4 separate regions of the Homo sapiens genome follow, and all the other regions are linked to region 2. Evidence: promoter capture Hi-C in 16 types of primary human blood cells and fetal thymus (Javierre and others, 2016). All regions are on one chromosome and are shown on one strand. Each heading gives the region's core, a stretch centred on a gene start or on the middle of the fragment in contact. The rest is flanking DNA. Distances are from core to core; before and after follow the strand shown. Region 1 overlaps LINS1 (lines homolog 1). Region 2 holds the start of LRRK1 (leucine rich repeat kinase 1). Region 3 overlaps ASB7 (ankyrin repeat and SOCS box containing 7). Region 4 holds the start of CHSY1 (chondroitin sulfate synthase 1).

What was found. Contacts are between HindIII fragments. The CHiCAGO score rates a contact against its expected background, and 5 or more counts as called.
Region 1: a contact is called between a fragment that was not itself captured here and the fragment with the promoter of LRRK1 in region 2, in 2 of 17 cell types (naive B cells and total B cells). The highest score is 6.3, in naive B cells.
Region 3: a fragment that was not itself captured here is called in contact with the fragment with the promoter of LRRK1 in region 2 in 3 of 17 cell types (endothelial precursors, M2 macrophages and M1 macrophages); the score reaches 7.5 in endothelial precursors.
Region 4: a fragment that was not itself captured here is called in contact with the fragment with the promoter of LRRK1 in region 2 in 4 of 17 cell types (naive B cells, total B cells, M2 macrophages and 1 more); the score reaches 8.8 in naive B cells.

The regions. Positions count from the first base shown.
Region 1 is chr15:100,592,450-100,599,276 of GRCh38, reverse strand. The region is part of intron 1 of LINS1 (lines homolog 1); the gene reads left to right. Among named protein-coding and RNA genes, the nearest start is that of LINS1, 6.3 kb to the left of the region's middle. The HindIII fragment of the contact is 2,419 bases long and covers 156-2,574 here.
Region 2 is chr15:100,917,627-100,923,869 of GRCh38, reverse strand. LRRK1 (leucine rich repeat kinase 1) reads right to left here and starts at 4,513. Exons shown (of 34, transcript NM_024652.6): 1 at 4,419-4,513. It overlaps ALDH1A3-AS1 (ALDH1A3 antisense RNA 1), which reads left to right and starts at 4,587. Exons shown (of 2, transcript NR_135827.1): 1 at 4,587-5,066. RefSeq lists enhancers at 2,885-2,944, 3,471-4,062, 5,237-5,356, 5,407-5,496, 5,249-5,841 and silencers at 4,277-4,866, 5,627-5,846. The HindIII fragment of the contact is 4,524 bases long and covers 2,262-6,243 here.
Region 3 is chr15:100,644,487-100,651,483 of GRCh38, reverse strand. ASB7 (ankyrin repeat and SOCS box containing 7) reads right to left here. Exons shown (of 6, transcript NM_198243.3): 6 at 1-3,161. The coding sequence ends at 3,022. It also overlaps the pseudogene WDR12P2. Among named protein-coding and RNA genes, the nearest start is that of ASB7, 45 kb to the right of the region's middle. The HindIII fragment of the contact is 358 bases long and covers 4,493-4,850 here.
Region 4 is chr15:101,248,109-101,254,940 of GRCh38, reverse strand. It overlaps CHSY1 (chondroitin sulfate synthase 1), which reads left to right and starts at 2,893. Exons shown (of 3, transcript NM_014918.5): 1 at 2,893-3,804. The coding sequence starts at 3,485. RefSeq lists silencers at 2,429-2,808, 2,979-3,288, 3,479-3,908. The HindIII fragment of the contact is 999 bases long and covers 4,094-5,092 here.

The sequences.
Region 1 (6,827 bases), core at 116-2,615, 320 kb after region 2:
TAGATTGCGGAATATTTATAACAAGTTAATATTGATTAGGTTTTAACAGATACACTTCATTTCCCATTAACTTAGTTAATAATATAAAACTCACAAAAATGGGAACATCTTACAACATATAAGTGAAATAATTTGGGATAAGTATTCATGAAGCTTGATTCATGAAACCCTGACTCAATCAGAATTGAGTTTATTTCTTGAGTAGAAAGAGACTTTGTCATTGGAAAAATGCCCCAGCACCACTGCAGCAATTCTGATTTAGCTGGTCTCTAGGGAGTCCAAGGCTCATGGGTTTTTCCTAATGTTCCAGTGATGTCAGTGTCAAGGTCAGATTCCAAGGTCAAGGACCACTGCCCAGGAGGCTGTGTCCTGGCCCATAAAGCACTTGGTGGTGGAGAGAATGAGCAGGTTATGCTCTAGTTGGCAGCAGGCAGTGTTCTGGGCCAGCAGGTTGTGTCTGGGGATCTTGGTGTAATAAAGAGGGCCACCATAAAGACAGATGCAGCACAGTTTGGAGCCCATCATTTGCCTTGTTAGCCCAACTTAGTTCAGCTGTACCTGGCAGAAAAGGCGATGGGGCTGGGTAGAGAAATTGTATTTCAGACCTTGGTCATCACAGCAAAAAGAACGCCGAAAGAAAGGAAGCTAACTGGAGGCTTTTGAGTTCCTTATAGTTCTTGCCCTGGTAATTTAAGGGATTTTGGTCTTCTATGGTATTCTACCACAGCCATTTTAAGATGGTGCTTCAGTGTGTGTTGCTTCTGTCAAGTACGTTGTCAGATGTGTCATACGGTAAAGACTGAATGAGCTCAGAACTTAATCCCTGCTATGGATACTACTGTTTATAATTCTTTGATACTACATTTTTATTATAATTTAAAATTCACAACTTAAAATATTACATGGTGTTTTTAAAGTTTTTTGAGATCAAAACGGTACTAAAATATACTTTGGGACTGATTTTAGGATTGTTACATATACACTACTAAATTAATCTTCAGCCAGGAATGTATTCCACAAATATAAGTACCTACTGTGTATCAAATGCTGTGCTAGGAGCTAGGGAAGAACCAAGCAGACAACTCTAAATCATAAAAATCATTGCACAAATCGTTAAAGTATAATTGTGACACATTCTGTAAGACAGGGCACCAGAGCTGGAAGACAGTATCACCGGAGGACCTACCCCTGCCAAAGAAAGTCATATTTAAGCCTAAAACAAAAGGGAAAGTGGGTGGAAGGAGAAGCATTGTATCAAGGCCCAGAGGCTGGAAGGAACCTTTCAAGGTTAATAAATAAAGACATATTGACATCTTCCTACTTGAGTTATACAGGTGTTTTCACATATAAGCCATTTAATTTTTGCAAATCTTTGAGTATGCTACTTGGCTGAGGTAGGTAGATAATCTCGTTTTATCAATTGAAAAATCAGATCTTGTCTGTGTACAGAATTTAGGAGTTCAGTAAAATCTAGACAGTATCACATCTATAGACAGTTCCTCAACGCTACCCTGCCACTGGTGGCGGGTTTGTGGGGGCAGATGGAAAAGGGACAAGGCATAGACTGGAAAAGGGGAAGACTAAGGAAAACCTTTCAGTGAAATATTTCATTCTGAAGTACCACTTAAAACATACAGTTATAATTTAGCAACTAAGTATAGAAAAGTATTCATATTGATACACTGGATAATTTCCATTTATTTTAAAAATGCTTAGCATTAGCATATAAAAACCTAAGGAGCTGAGATTCCTCATCAATAAATCAAGTAGATTGTGCAGTGGTTCTCAAAATGTAGTCCCTGGTTCAATTCTTGGGCCCTCCCAGACCCACTAAATCAGAATCTCCAAAGTGGGCCCAGCCATTTGTGTTCTAATAAGCCTTCCAGGTAATTCTGATGCTACGGTTTGAGAATTATCTCTAAATTATCTCTTGAGATTTTTTCTAGTATGAACACGTTATGATTCTAATGTCCAGCATTAATTTGTGCTATGTTTAAAAAAAAAAAAAAAGATTTGCCTTTGGAGTGGTCACATAATAGAGCTACTTGAGAAAGATACTGTTGCCAGTAGGCCAGGTCAGGTTCTTCGCTTCTCTGCACAAAAGAATTTGAAAGGGAGACCACAGTGAAAATGTAGAAGGTTTGTTGCAGAGTGAAAGCAAGTGCACACTCAAAAGAGGAGCCTGGATGTGCTCAAAAGAGGCGTGTAATGTGGTCAGGGCTCGCTACGCAGACAGGCATGATGAAGGCACAAATATTCTATGATGAAAGGAGAGGGTTTCCAGGAAATGGGTGGGCAGTTCCCAGAATCAGGGCGCCACCCTTTTCTTGACTAAATGTGGTTAATCTGGAACTGCCATAGCTTCAGGTACGTGGCAGGGAGTGGGCGGTTTCCCCAGGGAAGTTTTATGGTAATGGGGCATAATGCAGCCAAGAGTATGCATTCAGTCAAGTTTTTGGCCATCTTGGATTTAACCAATTGCAGCAGGCTTCCTCTGTTACATTCTTATCTGTGCCTGGTCCCCAGGTAGCCCTTTCCCATTGGCACAGCTGCCGGCATTCACCTATGCAAGCTTTTACTTGTGTATCTATGCTTGCAGCTTGATTTTTCAGGCCGCTTTTTGTTAGAAAAGAAATGATTTGGGGGCTGCTTTTTATTAAAAGGGAAACCTTGCCGAGGACTCTCTTACCCTCACTATCTGTCTAAATAATTTCTAGCTCCTGTATCATCAGGCTGTTACCAGTATATCACTTTGACAGAAAAATGCATTTAAGCATTAAGTCTTTTATCTATAACTTGATTGCCAGGCTTTTCCTTCATGCCAAAAAAATCTGGCCTGTTTCAGAGTCCTAAGACAAGAGTTTAATAGGAAGACAATTTACAAACACGTGACAGAGTTTGTATTCTCACTATCTCAGAAGTAACCTGGAAACTTGTTAGAAATACAAATTACTGGGCCCCACCCCAGAACTATCTTATGGGAAGCTCCTAGGATAGGGCCCTGCAGTCTGCTTTCATAAACCTGTCTAGTGCATGACACAGTTTGAGTACTATTGTTTTGAGGAAAAGGAAGGATGGTGTAGCACTCCAAGGCCAGTAACCGCCAGCACCCCCTTTAGCCCTGAAGGTAAAGAGAGCTGGCAGTTCCTGGAGCTTGAAAGTCCAGCCTGCCTTCCGCCCCTCCCACTCCAAATCTCCTGGAGTCTGTTGGGGCACAGAGGAGAGTGAAGAATGGAACTAAAGGGAAGATACTGGCACATGGCATGCTGTCGGAAGATATCTGCCCCACTTCTTTTAATAGGGGAGGGAGGTGCTCTTGTCTAACCAGACCCATTTTATTTTTTCTGTGAAAAGTGCAGTTTCGATTGGTGGAGGGAACCAGAATCCTGGAAGACAGCCTGGGTTTGGAGGCCTCAACTTCCGCGACAGTTGTCACTGCATCTTCATTAATGGAGCAAAATAGATTAAGTAGCCTCTTGGGCTGTGGTCAGATTTGAACCAACTGTTGTTGAATTAGGGGAAGGCCTACTATTGACTTTCCCAGTCTATTAGTCTATGTAGTAGCCACATCATATAAAGAAACTAGTAATTTTTTTTACTTCTAATATTGACCATGAAAATAGATTATTTTTGTATTCTGAATTCAAACATAGACATATCTTTTTAAAGATAACCACAAATTGTTTTCCAAAGAGGATGTGCCGTTTTTCATTCTCACCAGCAGTGTAGGAGAGATCTAGTTTCTCAGCATCCTCCCCAGCATTTGGAGTCATTTTTAGCTCTTCTAGTAGTGGTAGTTCACTGTAGTGTTAATTCATATTTCTGTAATGGCTAATATGGTTAAGCATCTTTCTGTGGGATTATTTGCCATCTTTATATCCTCTTTGGTGAAATGTCTGTGCATGTCTGATCCATTTTGTAATTGAATTTTTTTTTTTAATGTTGAGTTTTGGGAGTTCTTTATATATTCTAGGTACTAGTCATGTGCTTTGCAGATATTTTTCTTTAAGTCTGTAGCTTGTCTTCTCATCTTCTTAGGGTTTTTTTGCAGAGCAAGTTTTAAATTTTGCTGAGTTCCGGTTTATCAGTTTTTACATTTGTGGATCATGCTTTTATGGTCAAGTCTGAGAACCCTTTGACTAGCCTCAGATGCCTAAGATTTTTCCTACATTTTTTTTCTAAAAGTTTAAAGTTTACAGCCATGACCCATTTAGGGTTGACTTTTGTAAAAGGTTGGAGTTATTTTAGAGAAAGTAAAATCAAGGTCATAGTAACCCTTATTCACAGTGCCTTTAATGTGGATGAACTGTTGATGCCCGAGGAGGAACAGTGGATTGTTGATTTTTCATGAGGAGCTTGCCGGGTTTGGTATAGCCACTAAAAGTATAGTCAGCCCTCCATATCCACGGATTCCATTCCAGTAGGTTCTGCTCCCCTGGATTCAACCAACCCCAGATCAAAAATATTTAGGGAATTGGGGAAAAATTTTGGCTACAGGATGGGGTGCTGGCTGCCAGGGGGAACCAGCCCTATGCTCAGAGTTGGCACTGAACATGTATGGATTTTTTCTTCTTGTCATTATTTTCTAAACCATACAGTGTAACAAATATTTACATAGCATTTACAATGTACCGTGTCAAATATTTTAAGTAATCTTGAGATCATTTAAAATACCTAGGAGGATGTGTGTAGATTATATGCAAATACCACACCATTTTATATATGGGACTTGGGCATCTGTAGATTTTGGTATCCTTAGAGAGTCCTGGAACAAATCTCCCACGGATCCTGAGGGATAACTGCCCTTTGTTTTGTTCAGAAACTCACAATTCCAGAAAACCGTGTCACTGACAGCAGCACTGCCAACAACATTTGATCCCACAAGATTCGTGATCATTAACCAAAATCAAAGACCCCTGAAGGTCTGATTACCATGCTGGCCTGTTGATTCTGGGGCTTAAATGGAACTATAGTCGGCCCTCTGGATCCACGGGTTCCACATCCACAGATTCAACCAACCTCAGATAAAAAAATATTCAGAAAAAATAAAAAATAACAATACAATAATAAAAATAATACAAATCAAAACAATACAGTGTAACAACTATTTACACATCACTTACATTGTGTTAGGTATTATAAGTAATCTAGAGATGATTTAAAGTATATGGCAGGATGTGCACAGTTTATATGCAAATATTATGCCATTTTTTGCCAGGGAGTTGAGCATCCATGGATTTTGGTATCCTTGGTGGGTTTTGGAACCAATCCCCCACAGATACCGAGGGGTGACTATACAATTTTAAAAACTCAGTCAAATCGCTATCCTGATTAACATTTCAACCTGTAGTTGCTGAGTATCTTTTGAAAAAATTAATCTTAGTTTATATTGGGAAATTGCATAGTAATTGACCTTGATTTTAGATCTCGCGTAGCATGTGAAAATGTTTCTGAGCACTATTGTTTTACAGTGTGAACAGTTAAGCTGTAGGAGTTACTATTTAATTTGAAGTCCAATGTTGAACTCTTGTCCTGGGCTTTTGGAGCACCAATGGAAGTTTGAAGAGTGCTTTGGTGGAGTGGTGAAGGACACAGGCTCTGATATTAGATTTTCTGGCTTCACATCCTGACTCTGTCCCTGAAGCTCTGTGACATAACATCTCTCTTAGTTTTCTTATCTGTAAAATGGGTATGATAATTAAGCACCCCCCCCCCCCATAAAGTTGTAAAACTCACTTAGAGCAGTATCTGGTACATAGTAGGTACTCAATAAAGTTTAACGATTCGTATTCCTAACACAGCAATTTTATGTGAAGATGGGTGGGAAGTATGTTATTTTATATTAATAAACACATGGTTTTATTAGGCATATAATGCAAAATTCAAATAGTTTACAGAACTTAAAAAATAAACAGAGGCTTCAGATAGATTTTATACTTAATATGGGTAACCCTTAGGCCACTTGGTGTGGGATTTCAGCTCCTCTGCCAAGAGAAAACACTAAGAGAATCACTGCTCCTTCACTTACCTAGTAAGACTGCCCCAATTGTTTGTTTCCAGGCTAGAGAAATCGTTCATTTATCATATAGATGGCCTCAGAGCCTGTCAGCATCCTGTGCACCCTCCGTCAGACACTTGGGTTTGTTGGTGTCTCTTAAAAGCTTGTTGTCTGAAGAGTACACATTCCCCCAGGCCAGCATGATAATGCAGAATGAGATGTGCAAACCTCAGAGCATCCACTTCAGAAAAAATTGTGGTCAGTTAAATCCCCTAGTTTGTTTTCTTAAGGATTTGTCCTTTCCTTTAATACCACAATTGCTTTAAAAAACACATACAAACTACAGTTTTCAATTCCAATGGGCTACCCACGGACATTTATTTTAAAGACAGTGTAATTAAGAGGAGTTTATACTTGATCACAATAAAACAGCCTAGCACCTATTGTCGTCATTCATTCATTAGCTGCCTGGCCCCTTGGCATTTGTGACCTGTATTACTAAGATGAATATTTTTTGATTTCCATCTAAGATTACAGGCCCATCTCCTTTAAGCCTATTACTTCCTATGGGACTAGAACAATAAGTTGATCTTTTGTTAAAGTATATATATGGCCTTTTGTCCTGGGTTCCTGAAGCAGCTCAAGACAGCTTCAGAGCACTAAAGGTAAAAGGCAGTGTTTTGTTATTTATAATAAACACTTTTCACACACCCCAGGTTATGTTAATGAGGTGATTTTTTTGGACCACCTAGATGGCTACAGGATGGAGTGCTCACTGCAGGGAGGGAATCAGCCCTATGCTCAGAGTTGGAACTTTCAGCCCTACCCC
Region 2 (6,243 bases), core at 3,264-5,763:
ATTTTTGGTTGCCACAACTTGGCTGGGGGAGAGTGCTACAGGCCTCTAATGGGTAGAGGTCAATGATGCTGCTAAACATCCTACAATGTACAGGACTGCTATTTGCAACAAAGAATTATCTGGCCCCAAAAGTTCCAGGGTGGAGTTAGACTAATCTCTGAAACTAATGACTATGATAAACTGAGACCAAGTGCTGCTCTTCTATGCTGGGCCCCCACTGAGCTTAGAGTCCCCCCATGGGCATAAGTGCCCATCCTGGTATGGTGATTGAAGGACCAGAGGGAGGGTAAGACCCATGCCTAGCTCAGGCCTGACATGAGGTACTACCATAAGTAATGCATGTGCGCCTATCCTTGTTCTTATAGCATATCCTACATGTGATGAAGTACGAGGTAATTAGCACCTCTTGTCTGTGTTCTCTCAGATAGACAACTCTGAAATGGGGAGTGATAGTGCAGCCAAAAATATATTTTTTAAATCAAGGTTATATAAAAATAATGCCTAAGAGAATCTGTACAGGCAAAAGCATAGCGTGGACGTTAAAGGTGTGGACTGCCTGTGTCACATGTTCGCAGTGTGACTCCCAGCTGAAAGGTATGTGTGTCTCAGTTTTCACCTGTTAAAAATAGACATCCACCCTTATGCCCGGGCCTGCTAGTGGGGTTACTGTGTGAATTCAACCAAAGTGAAGTTTCTGCAGCCTCTCTCTACGACAGGGCTGGGGTGGTCATTACCTGTAGTACCAGCGCACAGACTTGGAGGCCAGCGGGTCTCCCACTTCCCTGCTAATTAATAAGATCAGAATATCAATGCTGGAGGGCAGATGCCAGCCTCACCAGCGGGTAGGTTCTAGAAGATGCCGTGAGCAGTAGGGGCACGAAGTAAGGTACAGGACAAGGCTGTGGGAATTTCTCACCTAAAAGCCTAGAACTCAGGCACCTGGCCCAGGTGGACTGGACTCGTCAAGGCAGGGAAAGGTGGAGCTAGAAAAGCCAGGCTCCAGCAGCCTTGTGCAAGCTGCACATGTTTCAGAGGCAAAAGGGATGGTCGACACAAACCACGTGTGGGAAACACCTGTGTTTGAAGTTGGGAAGCCTGAAAAGTCGAAGGAGGAAAGGAAAAACGATCAATCTGGGCAAAATTTAGGGGATGATGAAAGCCTTATAAATAGCAAAACCTGATTTGGAAAATCAACTTGTGACAGAGAGAGGAAGAGCCAGCAAGACAGAATCTGTTTTAAAATAAACGTTCCGATCACACATTCACATCCAGAAACTGAGAAGCACAGTTGCCATCTGCTTTCAGACACCTCTCCAAAACAGCTACCGCACATAACCAACAGCATTTCAAAAATCCAAACGCTAGACATTCTTCCTGAAAACAGAAGTGTCTTACCATACAATGTTTTTAAGTTCTAAAAAAAAAAAAATCTTAAAATTATTTCAGGCTAACCCTCACCCAGCACATTTTGTTCCCCTTTTCATTTTCAGTTTCCTTTTGAAAATCACTTTACCAGTGGAAGACTCTGCCCCTGGAGCAGTTTTAAAATTCTAGTTACTATTTTGGCTTATATTCTAAGGTAGAAGTTTTAAGATGAGGTAATTCAAATTTTGCTCAATCTTTGCCCTCAAACGGATCTTTGCTTCCTCCTGCTTCTTTTGGGTCCAGAGAGGTGCCAACAAGTGATGATTACAAGTTACATGTCTTCATTATACACCCTAAAGAGGGCATCAAGAGGTTTTCAGCAGTAATGATGGTTTAAATGATTTTTCAAAACCTCATCAATTTCCTTTTGCCAACTATTTATACCTGCATTAATGAATAAACCTAAACATTTAATGGAAAAGAAAATAGATGGGTGCGGTGGTTCACGCTTGTAATCCCAGCTCTTTGGGAGGCCGAGGAGAGTGGATCACTTGAGGTCAGGAGTTCGAGATCACCCTGGCCAATATGGTAAAAACCCATCTCTACTAAAATTACAAAAATTAGCTGGGCATGCTGGTGGGCGCCTGTAATCCCAGCTACTTGGGAGGCCGAGGCATGAGAATCACTTAAACTGGGGGAGGTGGAGGTTGCAGTGAGCCAAGATTGCACCACTGCACTCCAACCTGGGTGACAGAGCAAGACTCTAGAGAAAAGAAAAGAGAAGAACCTGTCATTCATTCTACAAATGTCTTATTGAGTTCTTTCTATGAAGAGGGAACTTCATGAGTTTGTGAAGCTGGTGGGGGAGCAGACAGCTAAGTAATTGCTATAAAGCTTCTGACAGCAGAGAAGCCCAGATATTTTAGGAGGCTTGGGAAGGACTGTCGATATCAGTTAGAAGTTAGAAGTCCCTTGCAAGCAAAGCATGCTAGACATGCTCATTCATATCACCTAGTTCCTTTTTGAAACAAAATCCTGGTCAAAATGGTTAGCCCATGATTCTAGAAATCTCTTGAGTGCTATTTGCATCCCTTACTAGCATTGGCTTTTGCCTATAAAATGTGTTTAATGGGTTTGGGGGCATCCAAATATCTTGGAGCTGCAGGCCAGAGAAATATGTTGTTCTCAATCCCAGATGAGCCCAAAAAGGGTGGAGGAGAGAAATGCTCCATGAGTCTGAAACCACAGGTAAGTTAGGGTTGTCCATTCCCCATCCAGTCACTCTACCACCATGCACGGGGTATCTCCCTGTACAGTTATGGGAATGAGGGCACAGCAATAAGCAAGACAGATCAGTCTCTGACCCCAAGAGCTCCAGTGGAGACCACAAGATAATTAAGGAGAAATTAAACAGATAAAGAAGGAGTACAGAATGGGGACTGCAGGGAGGCTGCAGAGTGAGGGATGTGAGAGGGAGCGTGGGTTTTCAGAGGGTGACCAGGGAAGACTTTCTGAGGCTGTGTGAAGAGTCAGGAGGCAGCAGTGCAGGGGACCAGTGCTGGACAGCAAGCTCAGCCAGTGTGGCCTGGGGCAATGGCCTGGTGGTCCGAGACAGCAGAGGCTGGATCAGCTGGGGGTGTGAGGAGAAGGAGGTCTCCTGGATTGCGTGCCAGTTGCAAGGAGAAGCTACTGAAGGACTCCATAAAGAGGACTGATATGGTCTGATTTACCCATTTAAACACACAGACACACACAGACGCACGCTGCTATATAGAGAATGGAGGAAGGGGGAACTGAAATCCTACAGTAAAGAGATGCTGGTACCCTGGACAAGGGGCAGGGTGGGGGGTGGGGGCATAAGAAAAAGGGGACAGATCAGGACACATTTTAGACATAGATTCAACAGACTGAATGTTTTTTATCTGAGGATCCGAGTTGACTGCGAGGTCACTGCCAGAGACATCGACTTTTGGGAGAGGGAAAGGTTTGGCTGACCGCAAAACCTCCTTTAGGAACAAATTAGGTGTGAGGTTAGTTTGTTATATTATTTTCTCTTTCAGGACATAGGCAAAGATGAAGAGAATCAAATCATAAAAGGCGTTTAATGTTAACATTTTCCAAAATTGTGCATGTTCTAGCTATCCCTTTAATGTCTGGGCATTTTGATACCCTGTGAGTGGCTGGCAAACTCTATCATTAGTGTACACGGTGAGAGGTTTGCTGAAAGCTATATGCCCCCGTTTCTCTACCTGTTGCAGGGGAAGTGTTCGTGGGAGAAAAACTTCGCGGCCTCATACTGTGAAGGGGTAGGTTGAGATGGCCACGGGGGTTCTCAGATTCTCCACCAGCGTCTCCTCGCTGACCCCGGCCTTCCTAGGCTTCCTTCCCGCGTCCCTGCCTGCCAGGAAGGTCCCCTGTAGCTTGCAGAGACCATGGTAGACAGAGCAGTTGTATCTGCGCCAGCCAGAGACCACCTGGGCAAGAAGCGTGACCCAGACATCGAGGAGGGTGAAGCCTCGCTGGGCCGCCCCGCAACCCCAGGAAGCCCCGGACCAGCGAGAGGCTCCCGGGCGGTCTCTTGCCGACACCCCGGCACGGGCTCACCCGCGCGCTCACACTCCGCCCGCTCCCCGCTAAGGGACTGGGTTCGCTCCAAAGGCAGAGGAAACCTATGGGCTCCCCGGCTCGTGTCTCCCGACTCGTGTCTCTTGCCTCCGCTTCCCAGCTTTCCCGACCCTGCCCGGACGGGGTTTCGGGGTTCCCTGCTCGGGCCCCGCGCGCTCCCCTCCCACAGGCTGGCTGGGCTCCGGGCGCGGCGGGAGGCAGCGGGGACGTGAGACCGGGGTCGCCCCACACGCCCTCCGCGCCCCTCGGGCCGCGGCCCCTGCGCAACGGCCCCCCGTGCCCGACCACGCGGCCGCCCGGAGCGCAGGGGCCCGCGGGCAGGCAGAGGCCGAGGCTCCCCGCGGGCGCCGGGCGCGGGCTCTGGGTTCCCCGGGCGGGGCCGGGAGGCAGCCAGGCCGCCGGGGGGCGCCGGCAGGAGCGGCGCTTACCTGAGGCGGCGGCGGGGCCGGGTGCGGGCGCTCCGGGACGCGGGGCCGGGCGGACACACTGGCGGGGCCGGGGCCTGGCCGTCCCACCGCCGTCTGCCCCCCGCGCCGGGGCCGGGCCCAGACGCACTTCCTCAATCCTGAGGCGGGCGGGCGGGGAGGGCGGCGCGAAGAGCGCGCAGAGCAAGGCCGCCGCCAGCTCTCCCAGGAACCGTCGCGAGGCGTCCCCTCGGCGGCCGCCTCAGTTTCCCTGGCCGTAAAACGCGGGCGATGGCGCTCGATGCCCCGGGAGACGCCGGGGTCCGCGGGCCCTTCCGGCACCGGGTCCTCCTTCAGGTTCGGGCACCCGGCTGCCTCCACGCGGGGCGAGCGCGGCGATGGGATCGGTCCGTGCTGCGCTCAGCCCCGCTTTCGCTATCCCTCTGCTCCAGGGGCAGCAAAATCAGCAGATGAGCCCCCAGCGCGCCTGCGGCCCACACACTGCGGCCGTAACAGTTAAACAGACGGGGAACATTCATGTGCGTAGAGCTCTTCACGGGGCGATACAGAAATGTGTCGTTCTAAAGCGTTAACGACCTGCAATTTGCATATCCTCCAACACATGGATTTTACTGATTCAATTATGGATGTGTGCAAAGAATCTGCTGCTCGGTGAGTCATTGTTAATTGTCGGCTTTGGGGGGAATACATAAAACGTGGAATATTGGCAATTTATCGTGTTTCGACCTTTTATAAAGGCGTCACCAGGCTGCTGAGGCTAATACAGAAACGCAGACCATAAAAAAGATCTGCGTCCACGCTGCAGGCGGGCCTCACGCTGAGCTCCCCGTGTCGACCCGGGGACAAAGCCTGCTCAGGAAGAGCAGAGGGTTCCACGCCCTGCAGGACCAGCGCCCTGGGCCCCTCTCCTGGAAAGTTATGACTCGCACGTTCCCAGGATTTAGCGCACATCTCCCCCACCCTCACTGCCATTTCACAGAACCGGGGCAGCCGCAGGGCTCCTGCAGGACCTCCCGGACGCCGCGGGGCCGTGTTCCCTTGAGCGGCTTCTTGGGTCCCTGGTTGGAGAGGGGACCACCGAGCAGCTTCGCTCTGCTCCTGGGAGGCTACTTCTGCCACTGGACGACTTTCCAAAAGGGTGAGCGCAGTTCTGCAATCCTGTTCTCACCCCTGAGGGCCTCACACCAGTTTGCAGGAGCCAGCAGTGTGATTGCCACCGACAAGTTCCCAACAATTTGCAGGGCGTGGTGTCCTCAGTGCTGAGAGAGCCCCGCGACGGCGGTGCAGCTCCTCCAGGGCGCGCAGCCCCGCCACCTGGCGCCACCGCGAGGGAGCGCAGGCCCAGGGCCCGGGCAGACGCTGGAGGGGACGCGGCAGGTGAAGATGGGGCACCTCCACTTCCCTTCTAAAGGAGCCTGGGAATAGGCTAGGAAATGTCCCCACTGTAGAAGACAGCAGGAACATCTGACACGCGGATAACCTGTGCTGAGCTCGTTATATTCCCAGCATTTAATTCTAGCCATTAGGCATGCGTTAGCCACAACTTCGCATAGGAAGGTTATTGCAGGTAAGTTAAGACTCCTTTCCACTTCTTCCTAAGGGTCGCTGACCCATGGTTCTCTAGCTTTTGCTGGTAATCCCACCCAGATTCTCAGCACCCTAGGTTGGAATGACCCCTCCTGAGGTGGGTGGGGTAGCTGGGAGGCACCTCCCTGAACTGACTTTTCTGCCTTTTTGAAGGTGCAGTGGCTGAGCGCTCCTTCAGTGTTTTCCGGTTGTCTTTCTTCAGCCCAGTACGCAGTTTCCTCAGACAGTCTTCCTTGAGCAA
Region 3 (6,997 bases), core at 3,422-5,921, 270 kb after region 2:
TACACATTCTTGTCTCTTGGGGTGTGCATCTGACGAGTCATGCTAGAGTCCCTCATGCTCCAGATGTGTACTCTTGCTACTGCCAGAACGCTGGATTCTCTAGTGGAAATGCTGTTCCAAGCATGACTGACAATGAATTAAAAAATGAGACAGTCAAGTCCTCCAAACTAACAGGCATGGATTACTGTGTAGTAAATAGTTTAGAAATATGGGAATTAAATAATCTAAAAAACACTCTTACTCTGCTGTACATTTATAAACACAAATATTTACAAAAAAAAAAAAACACAAAACCTTGTTTTCGAAAGATGAGGTTTGCAGTTCATTAATGATCATAATCTTTTGTAAGCTGGTTTCTTTGGTGTATTTGCCAAATATATTTTTATAAAGGTTTAGTAATAGGCTTAAATAATAAATTTCAAAGGAAACATAAAAGAATCTGACAAATTTGAAAATATTCTGAACATTTTCTGTTCTGTTTCTGGAAAAAACAATCGGTTGATTTTTCTGAAAATATCTGTTCTCCCTATTCATTATGTGACCATGGAATGCTTCTCTGTGAATCCAATTCAAATGCAGACCTGCAGGTGTCACCACTATCATCTACCAGTAACCCACCTGGAGACATTTTAGTTATTGTGAAATGTGATTGGGATTTTATTAACAACAAAAATAAAACATTCTTTTTAAGCTTCCAGATAAATCAAACCTCAAACAATAAATAATGGAATTATACACTTCTTCATTAAATAGAAATTTCAAAATTCCAGGAAGAGCTCTCATAATTTTTTTTTTCTGAAGTCACAGCAGCAATACAGAACAAAGAATTTACCTTAATCTGATCTTTTTACGTGGAATTCCCTGACTCAAACTCAGTGGCTTAGTTTGGAAACCTCTGAATGGCTGGGGAGAGAAAATCTTTTGAAACTAAGTGAATAAATTAACACACACATACGTGGAAATCAGCCCTTGTGCAAGTGTAACATGAACATCACTGATGAGAGTGCAGAAACTCCAGGCACCCCTCTGCCTCCTCCTATCCCTGGGCCTGGGGTTGTAGGGAGAAGTCACACTCAATTCATTTCTAGCCACACCATGTCCCTAACAGTGCTAGTGTGAACTAGCCCTGACCTGGGTATTGGTTTAAAGAATGAGAATACAGCTTGGCAACTGTCTTCATAAGGGACTCTCTCTGGAGATAACTTTTTGGAACATTTTTATGGGGAAGAGGACAGACTACCCGTTCCTATCCATCAGGCTCCAGCTAGTTTGGGGATGGTTATAGAACTGGCCACACTCAGAGTGGCTGCCTGCGAAAGAGTCTATGCCAAAGAGTCTATGGGCCACACCAGCAATCTCCCGAATAATCCTCTTCTCTGAAGCTGCCCGTCTTCGGAAACCTGTGCAATGCTTAGGCACAAGCAGATCAGAGTCTAAGAGCAAACGCTGTGCTTGAGAAAACAGCACTGCTGGCTCTGAAAAAGGTGAAGCCAGAGAAAACTCCTAGTTCTGCTTAGTTACACTTCTGGGTGAAACAGTTTTACACTTCATGACTTAAATCTAGAAATTCAGACGAGAGAAGCCCTTCGTCTTGTAAACTTCTGATAACAAATTTATTAACAGTGTGTTAAATATTTTTTCCCAAAGCACTAAGAACGATACTGGGACATTTGAAAAGGTTCTTCTGAAGTTAATAACACAAATCAAGCCAGAATACGTTTCTGAGGGCATCCTCTTAGATGCCTAATGCCTCTGGGACCTTTTCCATTGTTACTGACACTTTATCATATCCGTGTTTACACGGCAAACATATGCCCAATCAACCCAGAAAATAATTGTCCTGAAGAGCCTCACTGTATATAACCTTAAAATGGGAAATGTTTAATTAGCATATTAGAAATTAGCCAGACTTATAAATGTGTACCCCTTAAAGATTTTACGCTTAAAAAGTTTTTTTTTTAAACTGGGAAGAAAAGAAACACCATGAAGCCACCCCAAATTATTGAACCATTAAAGCCAAATGATTTAACAATTTTTAAGGGAAGACTCGACCACCAGGGTACAAAATTTTCTGCTTAAAGTGAAGTCAAAGACATAGCTTCAGATGGAAATTGCAACTGACATACGATGGCTCTGCAGTGACAACTGAAGCGGCGGCTCCTGTCCTCACGGGCATGTCAAAGCTGGCTGTGAAATGACGACCAGCAAGTGAAATAATGGATAAAATACACCAGAAGGAGTATTGCACTGCAGGCACAGTTTTAAAAACAGAATACACTGGCTTCACAAAGTTATTTTCTTTCCCGTTAATTTTTTTAAAAGTACAACTCTAACTAGAGATAGAAATCGAGATGCAGTGTCTCAGGGTAGTGTACTACAGTTGTTAAAAAAAAAATAAGTTAAAAACAAGAGCACAGCAAAAGAAAAGCAGAGGTACTGGATTTATGTCATAAGCAGAGATACTGGATTTATGTCATCCGAAAGCTACATTAATTAGGAAAAAGAACAGTTTGAAACGGCCAGTTTGTACTCATTAAAAATGAATGAGGTGACAGCGTTACTTCAAACATTTCTTAGGGCATTTTCCAAAAGAACCCAGGGTCGCCCTGGGTGAAACTGTGCCTCCAAACGTTAACAAGTGCTCTGCTGGTTTAGAATACCGTGCTTACCAAGGAACCATAAATTTGGAAAGGGTAAATTCTCCACTCTAAACCTGCTTGTGTCATTTAAGAAAAGACAATTTTTCTAAATGCAGTATTGTATACAAAGCTTGGACCTCTTAAACTTGGACCAAGAAACCAAATTAAGACCTTCAAGCATGTGGTGTGTGTTTTTATATATATATAAAAAATCCCTCCCCTACAATGAAAACCAACCAAACAAACAGAAAACCCAAAAGTGTATACCTGCTTTCTGATTTCACAGCAAATCAGAAATTGCATAGGATATACTTTGTGCAAGGCAAAAAGCCTTTTAAGTATCTAGAATAGAACTCCTAATCTTGCTCACAGTTCTGGCATATCAGATATCATCAAATTTGTGTTTTAAGTAGTCTTTCATGACCTTGGCAATTGGTAGTTCATCAAGTAGCTTTAGGTTTTGAAGGCCTATACATTGTCGAATTTTAATTCGGCACAGGTCCTGCAAGTTTCTGGGCTGTCCTAAAAAGACAGAAAAAAGAAAATGTTACAAAGCCACAAAGCACAATATTTAAGGCACTTTTGAAAAGAACTGTTCATTTCCCTGGAAGTTCTCTCTATGGACTTGACATGCAAAGGACCGGAAAGATACCAACTCAAAGTGTCCTAGGACCTTCATGCGATGCCTTATTTGATCCTTTTCACAACCGTGGGATGGTGGATATTTTCAACTCCATTTTACCAATAAGAAAACTGAGTATCAGATGTAAACAAGTTGCTTAATATCAGACAACCAATTAAGGCTTTCAACTGAGACCAAAAACAGTTTTGATTCTAAGCCTCATATCCTTTCTGTTATAAATCAGGAAAATTCTGGTTCTCGTCCTGACTAGGTCTCTCTCACGCTGGGTGAGCCACTGTGAGCCAATCATTCCTCTGAGCCTTGGCTTCTCAATCTGAAAAGTGTGGGGACTGAAAGAGATGTCCCCTATTGTGAGCCTCCCTTTCAGCTCTGGGTCTAGGACACTGGAGCCCGGACACCCACCACGGTCTCTGTGGAGCTTTCCAAACAAGCTTTCCAGATCTGCTCACCTGTTTTCCGTGATTCTGAACACAGCAGAACCTTGGTTGTAAGGCTGACAGTTGAGGAGTGCAGCAGAAGGGGGTGTGAAAAAGCGCCTCAAGGTATTCTGAATCTACATCGCTTCAAGCTTCCACACCCTGATCACTTGCCAATAAAAACCCGTTATATCTCAATTCAAAAGAAAAATCACAAAATCCTATTTCTTTCCCTTTGGAATATTTTGTTTTACAAAAACAATACAGATGGCTCCAAAAACAAGGAAGAATTCTTCAACTGTGCTTCAGTAGTGTTTGGAGTCAAGGAAGTTTTGCTTTCATATTAAACATGATAATAAAGCTAATATATATTGAATACTTACTCTGCGCCATGTATTGTTAAGAGCTCATGACATGTATTAACTCCTTTCATCCTTTTACGAGGGAAGTACTTTGATCATCATCCCCATTTTATAGAGTCTCAGAGAGATTAAGTAACATGCTTAAAGTCAAGTTGAATGCCATTTTTCAGTCATTCTCAAACTTTTTGTTTTCAAAACTCCTTTACACTTTAAAAAATTATTGCGAACCCCCAGAAACTTTTATGTGGGCTATCTCTATAGTAAATGCCATATTATAAGTTAAAACAGACATTTTAGAAATACTTTTAAATTCATTCTAATAAACCATTACATGTTAACATAAATAACACATCATTATGAAAAGTAACTATATTTTCCAAAACCAAAAAAAAATTTAACAAGAACGTCATTCTTTCACATTTTTGCAAAGCTTTTAATGTATGGTTTAATAGATGATAGCTGAATTTTCATATATGCTTCTGAATTCAATCTGTTGAGATAAGTCACATCAATCACACCACCTCGTCTCTGGAAAAAACTGACACTCATGATAAAAGGAATGAGAGAAAGGCAAATCATGTCTCAGTGTTATTATGAAAATCAGGAGGAGACCCATGGAGAGAAAACAGAGTCCGGGATTACACCGCAACTTCTCGCTTACCTGTGCAGTGTAATTTTGAGCTGTCTCTTTGTAGTCCTAAGAGACAGGAGCTCCCGTTCTCAGCCTACTAACCCATAACTGTGGGCAAGTCGTGTACACTCCCTGACATGGCTCAGCTGCAAACAAGCTTCTACACTGATCACAAGAAATAGGCCATCAATGATGTTGCCTTCTCAATCCCTGCTGTCTCTTAAAGTGTTGACCTTAGTAACATCATCAATTAATTACTAAAGGGCAGAAATGAGTTCCACAAATATGTGGAGTTTGATTTCCTTATTAAGGGTCAGTTTCTGTGAATGCCCTTGGTCAAACACATGGAACGGGAGAACACCTCCTTAAAAGAAGTTGTGGAAAGAGAATACGCGGAGAAGTACACCGCACCCCAACCAGAATGAAGTGTCCTTGATGAGTGGACCAGTTCAATTCAAGGGACAGAGGTATGGATCTTGACTGGTTCTTATGATGAGACTTCTCGAATCTGGTCCTTGGAAGGAAAGTCAACATTGACAATTGTGGGACACATGGATATTGTTAACAGATGTGGCCTGGGTGACAAAAGACAGTTTGTGTTACTATTGAGTGGCTCTATGGATCAGACTATTCTCTTATGGGAGTGGAATGTCCAGAGAAACAAAGTGAAAACCCTATGCTGCTGCCCAAGTGTAGATTCCACAGCTATTGATAGCTCAGGAACTAAATTTTGCAGTGGCTCCTGAGATAAGATGCTAAGGATCTGGTCTACTGTCCCTACAGAAGAAGATGAAATGGAGGAATCCACAAACTGACCAAGAAAGAAACAGAAAACAGAGCAGTTGGGACTAACAAGGACTCCCATAGTGACCTTCTCTGGCCACAAGGAAGCAATCTCCTCAGTGCTGTGGTCAGATGCTGAAGAAATCTGCAGCGTATCTTGGGACCATGAAATTAGCGTGTGGGATGTCGCGTTTGGCAATCTTAAGTCAACTTTACAGGAAATAAAGTGTTTAATTGTATTTCCTATTCTCCACTTTGTAAATGTTTAGCATCTGGAAGCACAGATAGGCATATCAGACTGTGGGATCCCCAAACTAAAGATGGTTCTTTCGTGTTGCCGTCCCTAACCTCACATACAGGTTGGGAGACATCAGTAAAACGGTCTCCTACCCATGAACCACAGCAGATTTCAGGATCCTTATATAACACCGTCAAGCTGTGGGATTCAAGAAGTTGTAAGGCTCCTCTCTATGATGTGGCTGCTCATGAAGAGAAAGTTCTGAGAGCAGACTAGACAGACACAGGGCTCCTTCCGAGTGGAGGAGCAGATAATAAACTGTATTCCTACAGATATTCCGGGGGGCATGAACTCGAATGATAATTTGATTATAGAGATTCTTTCTATAAATGAAAATTGGTAGAGAATCATGAAATTACATTGATGCAGATGCAGAAAGCAGCCTTTTGAAGTTTATATAAAGTTTTCACCCTTCATAACACCTAACATATCACTGTCTTTTCTTATTTTGTATTTATAATACAAAAGTTCGTGTTTATAAAACAGAAACTGTGGCTTGCATTCTCTATTTAAAAAAGAAAAAAAGGGAAGAAATCATTTTGACCTCACAGTTACCCTAAAAGGGTCTTGGGGACTCCAGGGCCCACTAGACCATACTTGGAAAACTATTCTTGTACTTTATCCCTCATATCCATTGTACTTGCTTACAGTGATCACCGTTATTCAAAAGGAAGTACTTCTTCATAAATGACAAAGGCTGACTTAGACCTCTGCTCTGTAAGGCCTGTATGAACATACGCTTTTCGAGAGGTTACTTGCTATGTGGTCTCTTAACAGAATGGCAGCAGAAGTGACAGCTTTCTTGGAAATGTCTGTAAACTAGGAGTATGTGTATCCACAGATGTCTGTACATGGATCTGTACAGGGATGTGACACACACACACTCATGTGCCTCTTGGGAAGATTATGTCTCCTCCACCTTTCAGATCTCTGCCAAAATAGCACTTCATCACAGGAGACTATGTCAGGATTCACCATCAGATACTCCCAGAGTTCCTCTCCTTTATAACATTTAATAAGGTTGTGAGTTCACATTTATTTGGTGATTACGTGTTAATTAATGCCCATCTTCCTCACTATATGACATGCTCCATGAGGGGAGGACCATGTCTGGCCCCATTTGCCAATGTAAACCCAACTGCTGACACGGTACTCGGCGAATATGAGTTGAATGAATGCTTAATAGGCTTGTCCTTAAAGTATAAAACAGTCAACGTGCTGCAAA
Region 4 (6,832 bases), core at 3,344-5,843, 330 kb before region 2:
CGGAGCCCCTCCAGGTGGAACTCACTCCACGCAGAGCTCAGACTCGGTCCCACACTCCTGATCCCTGATCCATCACAGCCCACCTCTTGGGCCACTCCTGTGCCATTGGGACTTTCATGGAATAACTACAGTTAAGGGCTTCCTTACAAGTGTTCCTGGTAACAGTTAATACCTCCCCTTCTTTTATGATGAGAAAAATGGTCAATGATTCCCTCAACAGAGAAGGCCAGTAGCACAGTGAAATCAAGAAGCCCGGAACATGAAAAGTCTTTCCTCAGCTCCCTGCAGTGAAATCCCTATAAATGCGAATCACCCTGCCTACTCCTTACCTTTAAAAATTACTTAGGGTGAGGGGGCTTTAGGATGAGGACAGCCTTGGCCTCCAGGGGGCTGTGGGGAAGGACGCATGTGTGTGCATTGGGGGCAGATGTTCCAGACCCTCGTTGTCCTCCCTGGCTCCTTGCTGGTATTGACTAGTGGGGCTGGGCATGGGACAGGCCTTCATACTGGGGGTACCAGTCCTGTCCAGCTGTTTGGGTCTCTGGCTGTCACTGAAGTTCTTGATTCCAGGTATTTGCTACTGGCTGTGAAATCCCCACTTAGGATAGCCTTGTCTCCTGAGCCAGGCCCCTTACTGGGACACTTTTGGATTCTTCCCCAGGAGAACTGCCTCAGCTCAACAATCCAGCTGCTCCTTCCAGATGTGCTAGAGCTTGCCCTCCTGCTCCTAGGCTGCATGCCGGAATTGGTCCCTGCCCCTGGCAGACTTCTACAGGACCTCAGTTTCTCTCTTCTCCTTCCAACCCTCTCTTGGCCTGGCATATCCCTCTTCTCCCAGAGGGAGTTCCCGTATGTCTTACTCTCCTTCTCCAGGGAATTGTAAGCCCTCAGGCTCAGCCTTTACAAAGAAAAGGGTATCCTTTCTACATTACGAAAGACCCCCATTAAGCCTGCAGGTGAGACAGGTGAGACTGTTAACCTAGGAACTGAGGGACAACTAGGAACCAGGATATTGAGGAGGACAAAATATTTGGCATCCTCAGAATATTATTCCCATCAGATATTTATATACTTTTTTTTTTTTTTTCCTTGAGACGGAGTTTCGCTGTTGTCGCCCAGGCTGCAGTGCAATGCAATGGCACGATCTCGGCTCACAGCAACCTCCACCTCCCGGGTTCAAGCGATTCTCCTGCCTCAGCCTCCCGAGTAGCTGGGATTACAGGCATGCACCACCACCCCCGGCTAATTTTGTATTTTTAGTAGAGTCGGGGTTTCTCCATGTTGGTCAGGTTGGTCTCGAACTCCTGACCTCAGGCGATCCGCCCGCCTCAGCCTCCCAGAGTGCTGGGTTTACAGGCGTGAGCCACCGCGCCCGGCCAGCTTTTCACTGGACACTAGTTTCGAAGAAAACTAGGTAAGTCTAAAGCAGGTTAGAAAATACTGAAATCGTTGAATATGCTACAAAATTGAACATCTGAATCTGGCCAGATTCGTACTTCATGTAAATCACTGTGAATGATGGGGCTGCTGAATTTGGGGGATCTGGTGACTCCTCGGCATTTGTGGTTTATGGTCTTAGTGGAAACCTTTTTCGATGGTTTTCGAGCCTGTAATTCATGGTTGTATGTTCTGTATTTTTCCCAAGACCACTGCTGGAATCCTGTATTCACTGCATAATGAGTATTTTATTTTTAGATGTGGATCACCCCTTAGGGAGGGGCTCTGTGGGAAGGTAGGTAATGAACTATTTTTAATATAAATCACAAGTGTCAAAGAAAGTGGTAATATCCAAAGAATAAACAAGAGTGACCACCATTCAGGTGCCGAGAAGGTATCTGAAGCTCCCACAGGCATTTTAAACTGTGTGATAGTATTTCAACCATTTGGTCAACAATGAAGAAAGATCCAAGGATTGCCCCAGGCATGTGTTTATTTGATTCAATGCAGGTAACTTCTCAGGCCCAGGGAAACACTTTGCCCTTCAAAAGTTTCATTAGAAAACCCCAATATACTGGTGACTAAGTAACAAGACTGAAACTCTACACAAACTTTCGTTGTATGGAGACCTCCGCTTTTGCTGCCTTAGCTGAAGTATTGCAGAGGAAATGTATAAAACTTAAAATCCAGAGTAGAGGATCTGGGACCCAAAATCCGTCTTTAGAAATCCACGGCACTTTTACAGACGGACTATATTAAAGTAGGGACAAAGTCCCAGGCTGGGGGTACTAGCCGGCTATCTGCCCACACAGTATGTAAATGAAAGTAGGGTTTACCATCCAGGGCATTAACTTCATTTTCCTTGTCTTCGAGATCCATTAAATGCTAGTACTGTATGAGAAGCGTGGACCTTAAGTATTAAAGATGGCTTTTTCTTCTTCTTCTTCTTATTTAGCGTAGAAACTAGCAACAGGGAACAAGGTAACTGAATTCACGGTCCACTCGCAGGCGCGCACGTCCCCAGGGCTCCGGGACGGCTGTTCCCTGCGTGCGGCCGCGGGACTGCGGACAAAGCTGCAGTGTGGTCGGGAGCGCGGGGCCGGGAGCGCGGGGCCGGCCCGGCGGCAGGAAGGGCGTGGCCGTGGGGTGCAGCGAGGACGGCCCGTGCGGGAGGAACGTGCGCAGCGTGGAGTCTGGGGGCCGAGAAGCCCCCACTGCAAGGCTGGCTCCCGAGATTCGCGCCCGGGCGCCGCGGTGCGGGAAGCGGCCGTCCTCGCGGGGACGCCCTTGCGCCGGGTGCTAGGTGCGGATCACGGGCAGCTCCGGCCCCGCGGGCGCCGGGCGGGGGCCCACGCCCCCTCCGCCCGCCAGCTCCAGTCGCAGACCGCGCGGGCGGGGCGCCCGAGAGGGCTTTTTTTTTTTTTGGTCAAACTTCGGCCACGTGAACCGCCCCTCATTCACTTTTGCGCCAATCGCGCGGCGCGGACGGATCCCGAGAGGGGCCACGGCTCGCCGCCGGCGGGGCCACTTCATAACGCGCCGTGCGTGACGTGAGGGGCTCCTGTTGCAATGGCGAGCTAAGCCGGAGGATGTGCAGCTGCGGCGGCGGCGCCGGCTACGAAGAGGACGGGGACAGGCGCCGTGCGAACCGAGCCCAGCCAGCCGGAGGACGCGGGCAGGGCGGGACGGGAGCCCGGACTCGTCTGCCGCCGCCGTCGTCGCCGTCGTGCCGGCCCCGCGTCCCCGCGCGCGAGCGGGAGGAGCCGCCGCCACCTCGCGCCCGAGCCGCCGCTAGCGCGCGCCGGGCATGGTCCCCTCTTAAAGGCGCAGGCCGCGGCGGCGGGGGCGGGCGTGCGGAACAAAGCGCCGGCGCGGGGCCTGCGGGCGGCTCGGGGGCCGCGATGGGCGCGGCGGGCCCGCGGCGGCGGCGGCGCTGCCCGGGCCGGGCCTCGCGGCGCTAGGGCGGGCTGGCCTCCGCGGGCGGGGGCAGCGGGCTGAGGGCGCGCGGAGCCTGCGGCGGCGGCCCGGCGGGCGGAGCGGCGCGGGCATGGCCGCGCGCGGCCGGCGCGCCTGGCTCAGCGTGCTGCTCGGGCTCGTCCTGGGCTTCGTGCTGGCCTCGCGGCTCGTCCTGCCCCGGGCTTCCGAGCTGAAGCGAGCGGGCCCACGGCGCCGCGCCAGCCCCGAGGGCTGCCGGTCCGGGCAGGCGGCGGCTTCCCAGGCCGGCGGGGCGCGCGGCGATGCGCGCGGGGCGCAGCTCTGGCCGCCCGGCTCGGACCCAGATGGCGGCCCGCGCGACAGGAACTTTCTCTTCGTGGGAGTCATGACCGCCCAGAAATACCTGCAGACTCGGGCCGTGGCCGCCTACAGGTGAGCCCCTGCTCCCCGGGCACCGCCTCCTGCGTCCGGCATCCCGGCGGCCGGCATCCCGGGTGCTCTCCTGGCTCTCGCCTCCGCCCGCTTCCTAGGCCCTTCTTGGGCTTCCGGCGGGATCGGGTTGCCTCTCGGGAGACGCCGGGCCGAGGGAGAAAAGATCAGAGGCGGGATGGTGAGCGCGGCGCTCAGGAACATGGCCTTTGGGGTCAGATGGACTAGTGTGGCCTCGCTGGGTGTACCTCTCACCCTGATGAAGGCACTTTAGCCTTTGCAAATCGAAGCTTCTCGTTAGAAGGGCCCGACAGATCGGGTCTCCCTCATAATGTTGGAAAACTCATAGCACAGTACCTGATAGTGGAGGCAGTTGGGGCTGATACTGGATTCCCTAAAATGTGCACCTTTGTCCTTGCAAAGCTGGAGCCCGTGTACGTTAATCTAGTTCTAGAACCTTTCCACATCATACTCTCACATTTCGCAGTTGGAGGCACTCCTATAAATGAAAGAGAATGCCCGCAGCATATTGGACCACACCAGTCTGTTGAGTACAGAGAGAGAGAACCTTGGGGAAAAGCAGTTCTTGGCCCTTGGTAGATTCAGTGGAAAACTGCATTCTGGTGTTAATTAGTTCAGCTTGGTGGTGTATGCATGTTATCCAGTAACTGGGCTCTAGTTGGCCAAATGAGTCATAAAAGCAGCTGGAATTGTGTTCAGGTTTAACAAAGGGATTAGCCAATGTAGTCTCTAGAAGGGAGATGATTTTGGAATGGCTGGCATGGTTAGAATCAGATTTGTATTGGAGTGAATTTGAAGTTGGAGAGGGTTGTAGACTCGATAAAGGGATTTGATGGAAACCCTATATGTGTGAAGTATAGAGACACTTACTGTATGGATAAAGTTTGGGTCTTATCCAGCCACAGAGCAAACCAATGTGGGGAATGGTTTTAGAGCATCAGTTGTCTGGTAATGAAATTTCAGAGCAGCCAGTGCTGAGCCAGGCTAAGCTGGTTGCTGTTTGTTCTTATAACCAATACCTTTACACTTCAGTTTTTAAATGCAGTCTTGGTCAGATTTTTCAGGCACTAGATGTTGTGAGGGGAAAAGCATATATGGTCTCCCTTGCCTTTAAGGGAGAAAGTAAAGGACTGAGAAAGAAGGTGAAAGTGGTCTTCAGTGACTGCCCCTTGAATGGCTTGATCCCCATTCCTGCACATTTCCATTAGGGTCCTGCTTAAGTCCAGAACCCACATTCCGCCAGGAAGGGTCCTGAGTGGCTTGAAAAGCTTAGAATGCAGGTATTGTAAATACAGACTAATGCAGGCGGGGCGCCGTGGCTCACGCCTGTAATTCTAGCACTTTGGGAGGCCGAGGCGGGCGGATCGCCTGAGGTCAGGAGTTCGACACCAGCCTGACCAATATGGTGAAACCCCGTCTCTACTCAAGAGTACAAAAATTAGCCGGGTGTGGTGGCGTGCACCTGTAGTCCCAGCCACTCAGGAGGCTGAGGCAGGAGAATCGCTTGAACCCAGGAGGCGGAGGTTGCAATGAGCCAAGATCATGCCACTGCACTCCAGCCTGGGCTACAGAGTGAGACTCCATCTCAAAAAAAAAAAAAAAAAAAAATTCTATCTATCGATCGATAGATAGAGATACATAGACTAGTGCAGTGATTTGGGAACCAGCCTATCAGGATCTCTCCCAGATCTACCTTGCATTACCTGAGGTTTTATGGGATTTTTTTTTTTTTTTTGACCAGAGAAACAGCCGTATCGGAAATCGAGGATGAGCCATATAGATTATTTACAGCATGGTTTTGAAAGTAAATCCGCATGACTCTAGTGTGGTGATAGACCATGTGAAATCACAGTTTTGGGGACAGTTAACAAACCAGTTAGTACAAACAGTAAATTAGGTAACTCCCTTATCTCCCCCATGCCCCCTGAACCAAATACATTTTCATGGTTACGGTATCAATATATTCAAATCAGTGGGGGGCCTAATGCACCAGCAATACTCAGAAAATGTAATGCAGGCCGGGCGCGGTGGCTCACGCCTGTCATCCCAGCACTTTGGGAGGCCGAGGCGGGCGGATCATGAGGTCAGGAGATCAAGACCATCCTGGCTAACACGGTGAAACCCCATCTCTACTGAAAATGCAAAAAAAAAAAAAAAAAAAAAAATTAGCCAGGCTTGGTGGCAGGTGCCTGTAGTCCCAGCTACTCGGGAGGCTGAGGCAGGAGAATGGCGTAAACCCAGGAGGCAGAGGTTGCTGTGACCCGAGATTGCGTCACTGCGCTCCATCCTGGGGGGCAGAGCAAGACTCCGTCTCAAAAAAAAGAAAATAAGTAAAAGAAAATGTAATGCAAACTAGAACTACTGTTTCACACTTGGAGATGGTTTTCCAAACTCGAGCTTAACGCTCTTACTTTTGGCCTCCTTTCCACATCTCTTCCCTCATCTTTTTCTGGATGTAAGACTTAATCTCATTGTTTATTTATTATTTTTTTTTCAGGTGGTTAGGGGAAAGCAGAAACACAGTTTGCCCCCAGGCGGGGTTCTCCCTTTCTTTTGACACCTCTGCCTTTCTGAGAAAGGAAAACGCCTACCAGGAGATAGTGTCCAGCTAATGTCACTCCAGCTCTCTCACAGAAGTTTCCTTTTATCTCTCAGATCTTAAGAAGTCAGAGTGCATGGAGCCTGGAGGTGGACCTGCCCTGCCAGTTAGGGTCCTTTGCCTCTTGCCTGCCAACCCTGTGTTTAGACTGACTGCAGGAGTTGGCACAAGACGATTTTAGCCTTAAGGCTAAAAGTTAAGGAACTTTTGGGGAGGGCCTCAATTGGGATGGAGGTTATAGGGTATAACATATGATTCCAGTTTTACTGTGCTTTGCAGCCCAGACCAAAAGTCCACACTGAGCTCTTAAATTGGAAATTCCATGCACAGTTCAGTATAAAAGTAAGCTTGACTCTTCTAGCACAAGGTAGAACTCTAGTTTGGAAATCGATGTGCTGAGCTTTACATTTC